2 separate regions of the Homo sapiens genome follow, and region 1 is linked to region 2. Evidence: promoter capture Hi-C in human tissues and cell types (Jung and others, 2019). All regions are on one chromosome and are shown on one strand. Each heading gives the region's core, a stretch centred on a gene start or on the middle of the fragment in contact. The rest is flanking DNA. Distances are from core to core; before and after follow the strand shown.

What was found. Contacts are between HindIII fragments. The study calls those that stand out against the background at their distance.
Region 1: a contact is called between a fragment that was not itself captured here and the fragment with the promoter of AIG1 in region 2, in 1 of the 25 tissues and cell types used here (mesenchymal stem cells).

What each region holds. Positions count from the first base shown.
Region 1 is chr6:142,393,536-142,401,199 of GRCh38, reverse strand. ADGRG6 (adhesion G protein-coupled receptor G6) reads right to left here. Exons shown (of 25, transcript NM_198569.3): 9 at 7,242-7,304; 10 at 3,445-3,587; 11 at 604-715. Among named protein-coding and RNA genes, the nearest start is that of ADGRG6, 95 kb to the right of the region's middle. The HindIII fragment of the contact is 4,789 bases long and covers 2,158-6,946 here.
Region 2 is chr6:143,057,832-143,064,648 of GRCh38, reverse strand. It overlaps AIG1 (androgen induced 1), which reads right to left and starts at 3,760. Exons shown (of 6, transcript NM_016108.4): 1 at 3,583-3,760. The coding sequence starts at 3,723. RefSeq lists enhancers at 3,221-3,270, 3,871-4,000, 3,826-4,764 and silencers at 3,461-3,530, 3,781-3,870. The HindIII fragment of the contact is 7,626 bases long and covers 1-6,817 here.

The DNA of each region.
Region 1 (7,664 bases), core at 3,303-5,802, 660 kb after region 2:
AGTATGCAAAGTATTTATGCTTAGGCAGTTTCCATTTCTGAATTTCCCCCAGGAAAACTCTAATTGGGAGTGAGGTGGGTAGAGAAATGGATTTGACTTGCTATTCCATGAATCCCTGCAATTATCTAGTCTCTGAGGTTTCTGTTAAACATTTAGAGAAAATCTACACCCTGACAGTTTCCATCAGCAGACTATCCCAATCTGGATCTTGTCTTCATTTCCTCTTTGCCTCCTCTCCCCATTCCAGCAATAATCAGTCAAAATAGTTAAAAAGTTTCGGAATTCCAGACGCATGTTCCAAGGGTAGGCTAGGTTCATCCACATACAAGGTACTTTGCTCTGGTGCTACCCACTGGCTTCTAAACTCTTCAGTTTTTCTGTGAAAGGGCTTGATTAGCATGTGGCTGGGAGGAAAACACTGCCTTTCTGAGTCATCCACTTATGTTATCTTTATTCCCCAGGAGTGAATGATACAGGCATACACAGAGATTCCTGCCCTTCTTTGCAATCAATATAATGCCTAAGAACTACCGTGCTGCACGTATAACCCTGGGAAGGCTGATAACATGTAGCTTTGCTGGCAAGAGTCAGTGAAAATATTACCATATCCGAGAAGCAGAAAAGCCAGGCTTGTCTGGACAAGGAAGAACGTATTCAGAAGGTTGGATAGATGGCCAGTAGTAGCCTTTGGGTTCCTCCATGGCAAGACAATGACCTATATGAACATAAGAACCAGCATGAGAAATATTCACCTATTTTTTAAAGTTAGAGATTAGAGATGCAGGATGAAAGCAAAATGACAATGCTGGTAATTAGGTATTTCTTTAATGTAATACCAAAATATTAGTGTTTATCTTCAGAATTTGTAAAAAAAAAAATTAGAAGTTAGAAAAAACATTAACATTTAATACACTTCAAATCCAAAAATCATTACATTGGACAAAACCTTAAGTAAAAAACACAGTTATGTAAGTATAAACATGAAACATACATTATCATTCTAATCATTAGCAGATACTAGTTTTATTCAAAGAAATAAACCCTACAGAGAAGGAAAACAATCCTGAAAAATTCAAAATGTAATTTGATTTTTTTCAAAGGGGAAAGCCTAGAAATGATGCCTCAATAGTGTCTTCTTTGAGTTGTGTGGCTATTTTATAGAAAATGTTCCAGCTGCTCTGATAGCCTCTCCTGCCTGGAAGCTAACTAAGGGGGACACAGGAAGTCACCTGCAAACCAACAAACTCTCAGACTTCTTTATCCTCACATCATCTGACTTTTTGTTTGACGACTCTCTAAGTAAGCCTCATGACATCAATGATTCAGATTCTACATTTTAAAGGATATCAAAGTAACAGCAATACGTCAACAACAACAATAAACTCTTGTATTTCAGTACTGAGCATTAGTGAGTTATATCAGTTTTCTGGGAACAAGTACTGTCATCACCAACTGAAAATTCAAATAACTTTCCCATGTATACTGTGAACTTTAAAACTGTTAGGTTTTAGCCTTTTATTTTTCCATTGGTAGAAGCGCTTATCCACAGATTCATTTGCAGAAAAACAATAAAACGGATAATTTAAATTAAATGGTATAAATTAAATGTCTAAATATATGGACAGAGTGGTGCTGGGCTTTCACAGCCTATGAGGACAGAGCCAGTGCTGGTCCTCCTAGGGTTCTCCAGTCATAGATAAACTACCATTTGTCAGACTCCTTCTTTGTGAAGACTCCTATACGTGAAAGGGTAGCAGCTTGCATTCTCCCTCCCTCCAAAAAGCCCCATTTGTTAAGAAGTATTTTCCCATAGAGACTCAGAAATGGTTTATTACCATGATTAGTATTATTATTTGCATTCATCCATCTCTATGAGTTCTTTGTAACGGTGTACATCCACCCAATAGAGATGGGTGGCTCCTCACAGAAGTGGAGATGCCTGCCTCTTTACTAGACTGTGATTATGGCCTTGGTCGCAATCGCCCTCTTCAAGGCTGAGGAACACTTGCCTCCCTCAATTCAACCTCCTGAGTGTAGAGAAGGCGAAGGGTCAAAGTTTTCTTTTCTTTTGATCTCTACTAATGTACCTAATCACAGTATAATTGCAATCATAGAATAACATTAAAACAATTGCTTTTTGTTATCCATATTTGTGAACATTTGATTTCCTAAAATATTCTCATGCAGACTCATTCATTTGTCTATTCAACAAGTGTTCCAGTTCCAGGGAATGTGCTGGGTTCTGGAAATATGTGGGAAGTAAGAGTTAAAGAAAAAAGAAAATATGATCTTAAGTCAGAGATTATTGTTTACAGAATATATACATATATATATATGTGAACATAAATATATCTAGTCTTCTAAGTACTATGGTCTTCTGATGCATATGATGCTCTAGGCATCTGGACAGCATGAAGTAGAGGCTCAAAGGCAGTGATGTCTATACTTTATTTCAGAAAAGGTTCCAAAGAAGAGCTGACTTAGGAGCTGTCTTTAAAAATACATAGGTGATAATGAGGTTGCCGGTGGGAGTGGAGAAGAACAGTGTGCAAAGATATAGAAAGGGTATCTAAAGGAAGCAGCACAGCCTCTTTGTGGAAGTACAAGCCGTGCCATATGTGTGGCTAGAGCTTAGGATGTGAACGATCTCCAGGAGAAACTTGATTTTAGGTCCAACAGAATCCCTACATTCATGACCTAGTCCTGTGAAGACAGTGGTATCACTAATAGAGACAGGGAACATGAGAGAAGGAGACGTTTTCTGTTTGTTTTTTTGAGACAGGGTCTCATTCTGCTGCCCAGGCTGGAGTGCAGTGGCATGAACATGGCTCACTGCAGCCTTGACCTCCCAAGCTCAGGTAATCCTCCTGCCTCAGCCCCGCCTAGTAACTGAGATTACAGGTGCACAGCACAACACCCAACTAATTTCTTAATCTTTCGTAGAGACAGTCTCCCTGTGTAGCCCAGGCTAGTCTCGAATTCCTGGGCTCAAGTTATTCTCCACCTTGGCCTCCCAAAGTGCTGGGATTATAGGCATGAGCCACCATGCCCAGCAGGAGATGTTTTAAAACAGGAAATCTCCTTCTATAAGATTTATCTCATTAGAGTTCCCACATTCACATCTACACACTCTTTTTTTTCCCTAAAGTTGACAACAGTGATGATCAAGATTATTCTGGCATTTTGTTCATATTGTTAGTATTTTCAAAATATGTTCCTAAAGTAAAATATAAACTTTCATCTACCTCCTTCATTCCCTTGGATTCACAGACACTGAGCTGATTTTTTTTTTCTGCTATGTCATTCATTTGTTACTGAACTTCACCATCAGAAAAAAAACTTACATAAACAAATAGCGCATAAAGAAAATTTCTGCTGTTGTTTCAAGTAAACCTGAATATACAGTTGTATAAAATGCATATTATAAAAAAATTAGTCACTTACCCAGTTGTCTCACATTCACTGTATGTAGCCTCAAGCCTTCATCCAAGGACTCATTATTTTTTAGGAGCTTCTGCTGAATGATTTTTCCTTCCAAATTAGTATTGTTGGTAGCATTGTAAACTAGAAGGGCCCAAAGCACCAACCTAGGGAAACATTTCGGATAGAACTGTTGTTGTTGTTCATTGGTTGCTTGTCATTTGGTAGGAGAAACAGAGTATTTGGATGTAGAGGGATGACCATCACCTGTTGAGACTGAAGAGATTAGCCAAGGTGCTCACAGACTTTCTCTGCTGCTGTGTAAATTATAATGTTAAAAATATTCCAATATTAATAGATTCTATAGGCTATTGCTTGTATAATTCTGTCAAATAACTCCATTTCTTTTCAGAAATATTTTAATATTTAATATTTATAGTAATACATTATATAGTCATTTAAAGCATAAACACAAGAAAACAGCATTCCTGTGGTTAATTCTACATTTTTTCTTTGTGGCCCCAAATTAATTTTTTTTAATAAAACTATGATTTCAACTGACCATTTATCTTTTGAAATTACCATTTCTAACTATTAGAAATTAACTATTTATATTTACTAACACTATAAAAGTGTTACTATTCATGAATGTGATATAATTTCTTCAGAATAGCAACAAATGATTTTCTATCTCCATGAGGCATTTGCAAATACTTTTTATGGTAAAAAGTTTCACAAAATAAATACTTAAAATCGACTCTGTGATTGGTCAGCATATTACTTAAGAAGGTTATAGAATGGTTGACTTTGAAGGTCTTTAAAAAGGAAATACCTCTATGGGAAGCAAAGAAATGTATCCCCAAAGCCCTGTTAAAAACTTTTGGTTCTACAATTTAAAGTAATATAATTTTCTGTTCCACTACAATCACAGCTATAGTCAAAAGCAGAAATCAAAACTATTAATTTAACACTGAGGTAAAAGTAAGTAACATTATTTTGTCAGGTAGAGGAGAATTTCTTTTGCTTATATGTGAAAGCTCTGGATTCACAAAAAAATTGTTTCTTCTTCATATTCAGAGGAGAAATGAATAAGATAAGACGTTATATTATTGAGATCAGTTACTGTCTTCACGCCAAAGACAAAGTGGTAGTATTGTTTTTAAACTAGTTATGGAATGTCTAGTGGAGAGGCAGTGACATTTTATTTATGAAACTATGAATATTAATAAGTATTATAGTAGTAATTTATTTGTGGTGTTAAAAAATAAGAAGGAATATGTGAAATATTTGCTATTCAAGGCTAGGTGAAATTAAAGAATAGCTCAAGTTTTCTTTCCTAAATATCTGTGCTAATTTCAAGGAATAGGTGCTCTACTCTTCTCATAATTAACTCTGAAAAGCTCTCTCTAAAATGATCTACTGCTTACCATTCGCATACAAGCCATATTTCAGGATGAGGCAAACATAATGAATATAATGATAGCTGTGAACATAGATGTGACTATGATAGCTTAACAATTTTTAAAATGGCCCATGAAAAAGTATCCCTGGATTAAGTCATTGTTTAAAGACAAGCTTCGCCACTCCAGTTGGTGAGAACTTACAGCTGGGAATGTGACCTTTTACTTGTCTTGAATACTGAGAACATAATTAGCCCAAAGTATTGTGGGTGATATTGAATACCCAAACCCAACAAGTCAGGAATAGCCATACATTTTCACAGGTCTTATCTGTGTGTTTTCCTCTCTCATCCTGAAAACTGAAACTATTTTATGGTTCTACAAAGTTACATTCTATCTGTTGTTACCATCAGCCATTCTTTATTTGAAAAAAACCTCTCTGTGGCTTTGGTTTCCTGTCTGTCTAGGCAATAGAGTATGACAGCATTATCTGAAGCTATGGTCTGTGTTAAGTGATACAATCAAATTGAAAGGAAAAGTTTTTTTAAAAAACAATGTATGTAAAAGTAGTAGACTGTGGTTTTGACAAAAACTGAGACTATAAAGCCTCACCAATGAGGGTAAGAGCCATAGAGAATAGAAAAAAGAGACAAGAAAGGCTATAAACATAAATATTAAATAATGGCAAGAGTTCATACCAAAAAGCCCCTAAATATGTGGATTTTGCTATATACACTGTCTCAGTTCATTCTCCCTATAATTTTCTGTAAAATTACTCATTGCTTTGAAGACCAGGAAACTGAAATCCCATGAATTTAAATGTCCTTCAAGAAGAGTTTCTGAGGTGCTGACATGTACTAACGATGGCTGATTTTAGTATCACCAGGTAGTAGAAGAACCACAGTAAGTACACTAAAAAGCGGACGCTGACTGCCTGAAGAAGGTATACCATTGGCTATATCTACCAAACCCAGGGCTGTCCCAGTTGCTACACAAAGTGTCCAGCAAAGGGATCCTGATTGCTGCTGGATCCATTACTGAAGATGCAATATGACCTAACAGAAAGGATTGAAAAAAATTATTTGGTTAAATAGTGGAGAAGAGTTCTGTCACCTTCAAGAATACAGTACTGAAATATACTACTGTGTTTTCATATCATAAAGAAAAAATTATAATACCAGAAAATAAAAACAAGTTTCCCTAATCACATGGCTCAATCCAGTCCATTTACTATGTATACAAAAATGACATCTTTCAATATAACTTTCAAAACATTTGTTTTTCTAGTGTTGAAAAGAAAAAAAAAGCTCTCTGGTCAATTCTCATATGAAATTTTATCTTTTCATAGTAAGAAGATATCACCTGAAAAGAAGCAAGCTCCGTCATCAGGGCTGTATATCCATAAGATTTAATTCAGTCTATTGAGATCCAGCAAGACTTATAGAAACTTTTGCTTCACAACAAATTTTTAAAAAATTGTATGGAGGCCAGATATGACATCTCACGCCTGTACATGTAATCCCAGCACTCTGGGGGGGGCTGAGACAGGAGGTTTACTTGAGGCCAGGAGTTTGAGATGAGCCTGAGCAACATAGCAAGACCCAGTCTCTACAAAAATAGTATTTTAAAAATTAGCCAGGTATGCTAGCACATGTGTGTAGCCCCAGCTACTCAGGAGGCTAAGGCAGGAGGATCATTTGAGCCTAGGAGTTCAAGGCTGCAGTGAGTGATGGTCACACCACTGCACTCCAGCCCGGGTGACAAAGTGAGACTCTGTCTCAAAAAAAAAAAAAAAAAAATCTACAGAGATGCAATACATGACCTGAATAACCTAAATACAACTAAATTTATTCCATTTGGAAATTTAGGGTTTTTTTGTTTGTTTTACAGTACTCTGAACATTTGGTCCTTACATGCCAACTGGTCATATATGCTGGACATATCCATTAAATTACCTGCATGATTAAGGCATGATCCTGATATAAATATTAAAAGGGAGACTTCAGAAAATTAACTAATAGCTTTAAATGCTGAAAACATTTAGGCATCTATTATCCATATTATTAGATGTTATCATATATAAACACTTTATTTAAAGCTATTTTCTTTGAAGGTACCTTTGCAATTTCAAGTAAGAGGCAATGGGTTATGATAAATAAACTGGAAATACTAAAAATAATAATCCATCCATTTTAAATGCCCTATTTCTCAATTATTTTTCATTGGATATACATTACTACCCAGTCTGTTACATTACAGTTTTAACTACAAGAAAAAAGTAGTGTACAGCAGTGCTAAAGAAATAACTGTGCTATGTGATTAAGTTTTTCTTTCCTATCTAATTGTTTTCATTTCTCTACCAGATAAAGTAGTGAGCAAGAGAAAGAATGTTATACTCTTTACAATACTTTGTCCTGTTACCTTGGCTCATCCTCAAGGCTTCTCTTGACTTTAATCTTGTCCTCTCCAGCACTCAGGTGAAAACTAAAAACACAAATACATATATTCATTAATCCACCTCACCAACTACATCATCAACAATAAAATTTGGGGACCTGAAATAAAGAGACAGAATGGGAATTCTAAGCCAATATTTTCAAATGTGTGTCCTGAGGTTCTAGCTTCTTTCAGAAAGCTAGGCAACTGTGTGCTTTTGCTCTGTTTTGAAGATTCACAATTCATATTATTACACTAAAGAAACTGAGACGTTCTGATAAAAAAATCTGCTTCAGTTTGTACAATAACGTACTTCCTGAACTTATATGACAATTTGACACCTGTTCTGTGTTATTAAATCTCTTATCTTCACAGAATATATGTTTAGGGGTCATGACATACACTTTA
Region 2 (6,817 bases), core at 2,511-5,010:
ATTTCATATAAGTACAAAAAGAGTTAAGTTTTTTTTCTAAGTCAGAGGCTTTAAAGCCAAGTATACTAGTTTTCTATTACTGTGGTAACCAATTACTATCAATTGAATGGCTTAAATGACACAAATTTATTATTTTACAATTCTGGAGGTCAGAAGTCCAAAATACACTACCATTAAGCTGTCAGCAGGTATGTGTTCCTGGAAACTCTAGGAGGAAAACCATTTTTTTGTCCTCTCCAGCTTCTAGACACCTCTCACACCCCTTGTCTCCTGGCTCCATCCTCCATCTTCAAACCCAGCATTGTCGTATCTCTCTCTGACTTTCTTCCAGTCACATCTTCCTCCAACAAGCTCTTGTCTTCTGTTTCCCTATTCCTTTTAAGGACCCTTGTAATTACATTGGGCCCAATGGGATAACTCAGGATAATTACCCTATTTTAAGGTCAATTGATTTGCAATCTTAATTCCATCTGCAACTTTAATTTCCCTTTGCCATGTAACCTAATGTATTCACAGGTTCCTGGCATGAGAATGTAAACATCTTTGGAGGCCCATTATTCTGCCTACCACACCAAGACAGTGTTCTTTTTCCATTTACTAACTTCAATTTTCCAAAAACACCTTAGTTCTCTTACAGTTTCTCAATACTAGGAAAAGAAACCATTGGAGAATAACAGTATAAGATTACTGGTAGCAACAATGTGTATTTCAGTTTTTGACCATAAGCTCTGAATCTACTGGAATGACCCTCATACCCAAGGAGAGAAATGAATACAGCCAGAATGGCCACTGCCACATAATCATCTGCTCCTGGATGCATAGAGCCTGAGATTCCTGACTCAGATCCTGGTAAACTGAAGCCATGGAATATGGAATCCAACTGTGGCTATCAGGATAAATGATTCCTGCAATCCAAGTTGGCTAGAAAAAAGGGCCTTCACATTACAATTTTAAAAAGTTAAACTCTTGCAAAATTACTCCAATAAACTTAGACTCATTAATATTGTACAAGGCACTAGGTAATAAAGTTTACGGTCTTTTTAACATTAAAAGTGAAAAGTAAAATGGCTAAATTATAGTAGCCTAATCATTTCATGCCATTACTGAGGATTGACAGGTTGGTTGTTTTAACAGCTGTACAATGCTTAAGCTCTAAGGATTCTAAATCTCAAATAATAAAAAGAATAACACTTTGCATGAATGTTTTTATGAATATATCTCAGACATACTTTCTCACAGGCACTCTTTGTTAAAGATAATTATTATGTTTCAATCAGGAGCCACAGAGTAAAAAATTACAACGCTGGCTAAAGGTCCTATACAATCTGAAGCTAAATATGAAGCAAAGTAAATGTTTCACATTTGAATCTACTGTCTGACTTCTGGGATAGAAAAAGTCCTGTATGGTGATTAGTATTTAAAACAGGCAAGTCCAATCATTGAATGCTAAAAGATAAATTATATGACAGCATATCAAGCTGACTCTACTATGGTTTCATGTCACACAAAGGTTATGAGAGGTATATCATTTCTTCTGAGCCTTGTTTTTCAATGCACAGTAAGCAATGCTAATTATGAAAAGCAGGCATCTCTTGGGTTAACCAACACCCTCAATTTCTACCTCTGTTCACCTGCTGACCCCTGCCTTGCTCCCACAACACAGCATCTACTGCAAGAGTGATGCTGAGGGCTGTTTCTAGAACCTATGGCTCCCACAGCATCTCTGTATTCTTGCCCAGCACTGCTCTTTAGCAACATTCAAATAGGCCAGCTCTAAGTAAGATCTGACTTAGGAATGGGATAAGGCAGTGTCCCAAAAGGAGTTTTGCTCACATAGCCCCTCAAAGAATTCTGAAAATCTATGCACATATTTTTAAATAACATCTCAACATCCTTAACATAGTTAAGTGTAAACACTTGAAAAAGGGACATCTTTCTGGCGCTCTATGGGTGGTATGCTTGCTTCATATACATATGCATCAGAACCTCAGGGTTGCAGATTTAGCTCATTCAGTATACAGAAAATGTCTGCTACACAACATAATTGGCAAAGCCAATCCTCATTGACAAGCCAATCAACCCAATAAGACTTTCTGTCAAGGCAACTCCGACATTGTTGTTCAATCAAATATAAAGATAGCCCTGGTGACAACCATCTATCTTCTGGAAGCTAAAAGGAACAGACAGAAAAGCACACCTCAGAGTCTTGTCACGGGCTCCTCACTTGGATGAATGGGGAGAATGAAAGGAGAACTGGCAGGCATCACGCATGTTCAGAGGGAAATTAGTTTCAAGCAGAGTTGGAAGATGAGGATCTGAAAATTAAAACCCTTGCAACATTCTATACCCTGTGAAGTCTTGTGGGCCTAAGGGTATGTGCACAGTTTGGAGACTGCTGGGCAACAGAATTGAAATTCCACTCTGAAAGTATCTAATATAATGCAAATATAAGGTGTTATTTTTAAACCAAAAGCCTCTCTGCATTTCTTTGAGGCATCCTAAGCCTTTGGAAATTTTTAAAACAGGTATCATGTTCTCTTCATCAGAATGGAGGGTCAACAAGAGATTATAATCTTGCTGGTGTAGCCAACCAACTGTATAGTCTTGGATAAACAGTTCAGGGAGTCCCAGGAATTGGTTCTACAATTTCTCTGAGTGCTTTAGAACTTCATTGCTTTTGTTTTAAGCCTCTTCCTAATAATCTTTTAGCGTGTGTCTTAGTCACCTTTACCCTGAAATTCCTAGGTCCATCCATGAGTTCATTATTGGGCCTTATGCCCATGTTCTGTTCTCCAGGGAGGTTGAAGAGGGCCTTTTAGTGCCAGAAATAGAAAAACTTTCAAAATGATATACTAATAATAACCTGCACCTGTCAAGATTATCATATTGTGCCAACAGAGGAGCTGCTTATGCAAACTACTGTAAATTTGTACATGGGAAGACAGAGAAGTGTGTACAGTCACCTTGGAAATGCACTTTGAACATCTCTGTCTCCTAATATGTACGGGGTAAAGGTTGAAAGTAAATTATTGACAATGGGGGAAAAAAACAGATGCAAAGAAGACAACTTTATTAGGTGCTTTCTCTCCCTTATGAGAAGGATTTGGTTCTTTCAGGTGAAGTTCCAAATCACTAGACAATACCCAGTTTCCTTCAGTTGCAACAAGTTCATCCCACGGTGGGTGCTCTGAAAAGCACCTTGAGGGCGAATGGGTCTCAGGCCATTCAGGATCAGGTCCGATGCTTTTGTTGAAGATTCTTCCCGTGTCACCTCTTAGAAGCAGTTCGGTGTCCCCCTCCAAAGAGCCCACCACCTGGCTGCGCCCCACCTCCATTTGTCCCCCAGTTGCCAGGTAAGGGTACCCAGCTACCAGGTAACGGTGAGTGGTTCAGAAGGTGCCGCTGCGGGGGCAGCCAGGCCTTCACACGCAATCACTGGGGAAGAGGCGAGGACACGGGTGGATGCTGGAGGCGCGCACGTGCGCAGGTGCTCGCGCATCCACACACACACACACACACACACACACACACGCACACACAGGCACGGGGTGCGGGGCGAGCAGGGGGAGGGGACGGCCTTACCAGATCAATGAACGTCAGGAATTTCCAGCTCCCTCCGTAGGTCTGGTGTGAGGGCATTTCGATGGCCTTGTAGTTACACAGGATAGAGCAGTAAGACAGCAGGATTGCCATCCGCAGCACCTGGCAGGGGACAAGCGCCATGTTCGCCAGAGGCCTGGACCGGCTGGGCGGCAAGGAGGGCGGGCGTGAGGGAGGCGCCGGGCGCGCGGGGGCGGGCGCCGTGGGAACCCGGGCGCGGGCGCGGGCGCGGGGCGGGGCGGGGCGGGGGCGGGGGCGGGGGCGGGGCGCGCGCCCCCGGGGACTGGCGCGGCCGCGAGCGCCCGGGTGACCTGTACTGGCCGGGCGCGGTTTGCGGACGCTCTCCACTGCCGGCCGCGGCCTGGCAGGCGGCGTGTCGTCATCTCTTTCGTCACCTTCGTCATTCTGCTCCTGCGTTCGCAGGGTCCCGGGACACCCGGCCAGGAGGCGCCCCCTAGGCATCCCAGGTGTGGATGCGACCTCTGAGTGCTACGAGGGCTCGGGAAGTGCGCGCTGATCTCCAGGGGGAAGCGGGCCCTGTGGCTAGTGGGCGCCGGGCCGGGCGAGGGGGCGGGGAACCTAGACTGAAGGAGTGGACCCCAGTGTCCACAAATGTTCCCGCCCCGGAATCGCGGTGACGCTTCCTGGGGTAGTTGCAGTTGGCCGAGAGCTGGTGCCCCGTGCGGAGGGATCCGGTGGGGGTGTGAACGTGGGGTGTAAACCCGAGCACAGGCAGCCGCGAGTGACTTTCAGTATTTTGGGGCAATAAGGTTTTCAGTGTTGACAAACGACTGTCAATCACTAGGAAACTCTCTCAATTCTGCTTTCAATGGGTAGGCTACGCAGCACTTTTCCATGACAGATTGAATAATGTCATATCAGTATATAACATCAGCTAGAATATGAACTTTGGACAAGAGGTTTATAGATAAAAAGCTATAAAGAAAGGATTTTCAAATAACTTTCTGCCACAAGATTGCATTCAGCTTTAAAAAATTCCAATTTTGGATGTAAAACCCCTGCGTGTAATTTAATACTAATCATCTGGTTGTTAAACTGGTTTTGCCCTTACTTTTTTCTTACACTACACTACCAGGGCTTAATGGAAGGAAAATAAATATAAACTGGAGTCCCTCCTGCCTTCCAGTAAATGTTGTCACACTGAAGTTGCATCAGTCTGTGGGCAACATTTTCATTTCAGCCAACCAGTTGCAGGTTCGGATTATGAAAAGGCAACATAGGTATTTCCTGTGGATCCATTTAAAACAGGTGTCCTCTTCAAATAGTCTCTGAGTCAGAGGATGTGGAGGGAGGGCTGGTGGGGAGAAGCATAGTGCTAGAGGTAAAGAGAAAGTAGCAAGCAAGCCATGGATGTTTTCCTGAATGTTTCCAATCAAGCTCTAAACTAAAATGAAGAGACCCACTAGATTTTTTTAATTGGCATTATAATTATGCTAATAGAACTGATGTCAGAAGAAGATTCTACTAGCATTAAAACGATGTATTATTGATGATTTTTGGTTAAATCTTAATGTAAAAGTTGGCTTTATTTTTTTAATTGTGCATCCTTGGTACATGGTTATAAACTGCCAAAAAAATAAAAATAAAAAAGAGTAGATCTATTGAAGATCTACCTACCTTAATAATGTGTCTGGAATTGGTTCCTGCCGGTAGATTAGTGGTCTCAGTGACTTCAAGAATGAAGCGGCAGACCTTGGTGGTAAGTGTTACAGCTCTTAAAGATGGCACAGACCCAGAGTGAGCGATAGCAAGGTTTATTGTGAAGAGTGAAAGGACAAAGCTTCCACAGCATGAAAGGGGACTGGAGCGGGTTGCTGCTGCTGGCTGGGGTGGCCAGCTTTTATTCCCTTATTGTCCTCTCCAGTGTTCTGTTTCTGTCCTATGAGAGTGCCCTTTTTTCAGTCCTCCCTGCGATTGGCTACTTTTAAAATCTTGCTGATTGGTGCGTTTTACAGAGTGCTGATTAGTGTGTTTTACAGAGTGCTGATTGGTGCTTTTTACAGAGCGCTGATTGGTGCATTTTACACTCCTCTTGTAAGACAGGCAAGTTCCCCAAGTCCCCACTTGTCTCAGGAGGTCCAGCTGGCCTCACCTCTCAATAGAGCCTTAATAAAGTTTTATGAGTTAATGTGATATTTGCAAAGTTTGATATACCCTTCCTACTTTACATGTTAGACAATTATTAAGACTCCCCAACCCCATTGTTACAAAATGAAATAATATTTTCATAAAGCCATTTTTAATGGTCAGGTTTTTTGTTTTGTTTTTCTTTTTGTTTTTTTGTGAGACAGAGTCTAGCTCTGTCACCCAGGCGGAAGTGCAGTGGCATGATCTCAGCTCACTGCAACCTCTGCCTCCTGGGTTCAACTATTCTCCTGCCTCAGCCTCCCAAGTAGCTGGGACTACAGGCGCATGCCACCACACCTGGCTAATTTTTTTTGTATCTTTAGTAGAGATGGGGTTTCACCATGTTGGCCAGGTTGGTCTTGAACTCCTGACTTCAAATGATCCACCTGCCTCGGCCTCCCAAAGTGCTGGGATTACAGGTGTGAGTCACTGCGCCCGACCAGTTTCTTTTAAATAAATAACTATAACTCTTAATTAAGTATTTAGAACCTATTCTGCTGGGTTTGCTTTTGTTTTTTCATGATTTGCCAACCATGATCAGATAGTTTTGTGCTTTAAAAAAATGAAGCGTTTGTATAAAACTTGACTCAAATACTATTTTATGAGAATGTCAGTTCACAATTTTTGGAACTTCTTGATAACTATTAACATGTCCAGGCTTGCTTTCTGTGCTTTTCAGACCATATCTAACAATCTTAGTCATGTTTTACAGATAACTTTTGTGGAAAATATTAATCTACACACATTGTGTTTTTACAGCGTAAACAATTGCTTTTAAAACTTCATTAGGTAAGTTATTACTTTTTATGAACTATAATACATTATTCACTTCTAAGTATTCTTATGATGATTCCATATTTGATTTAGATAATACTGTTTTCTATGTATAGAAGAAATATTTGCATGTCTTTTTTTTTATCTTTTTCATTCTACTACACAGTTAGTGAGACTGGAGGAGAAAAGCCTCATCCAGTTGAATTTCATCAATAGCAGTAAACATAAGAAACACCAAGGGAAGATTTCAAGAACCCGTTTTAGCTTCAAGCTATATTCTTTGATTGTTGTAATA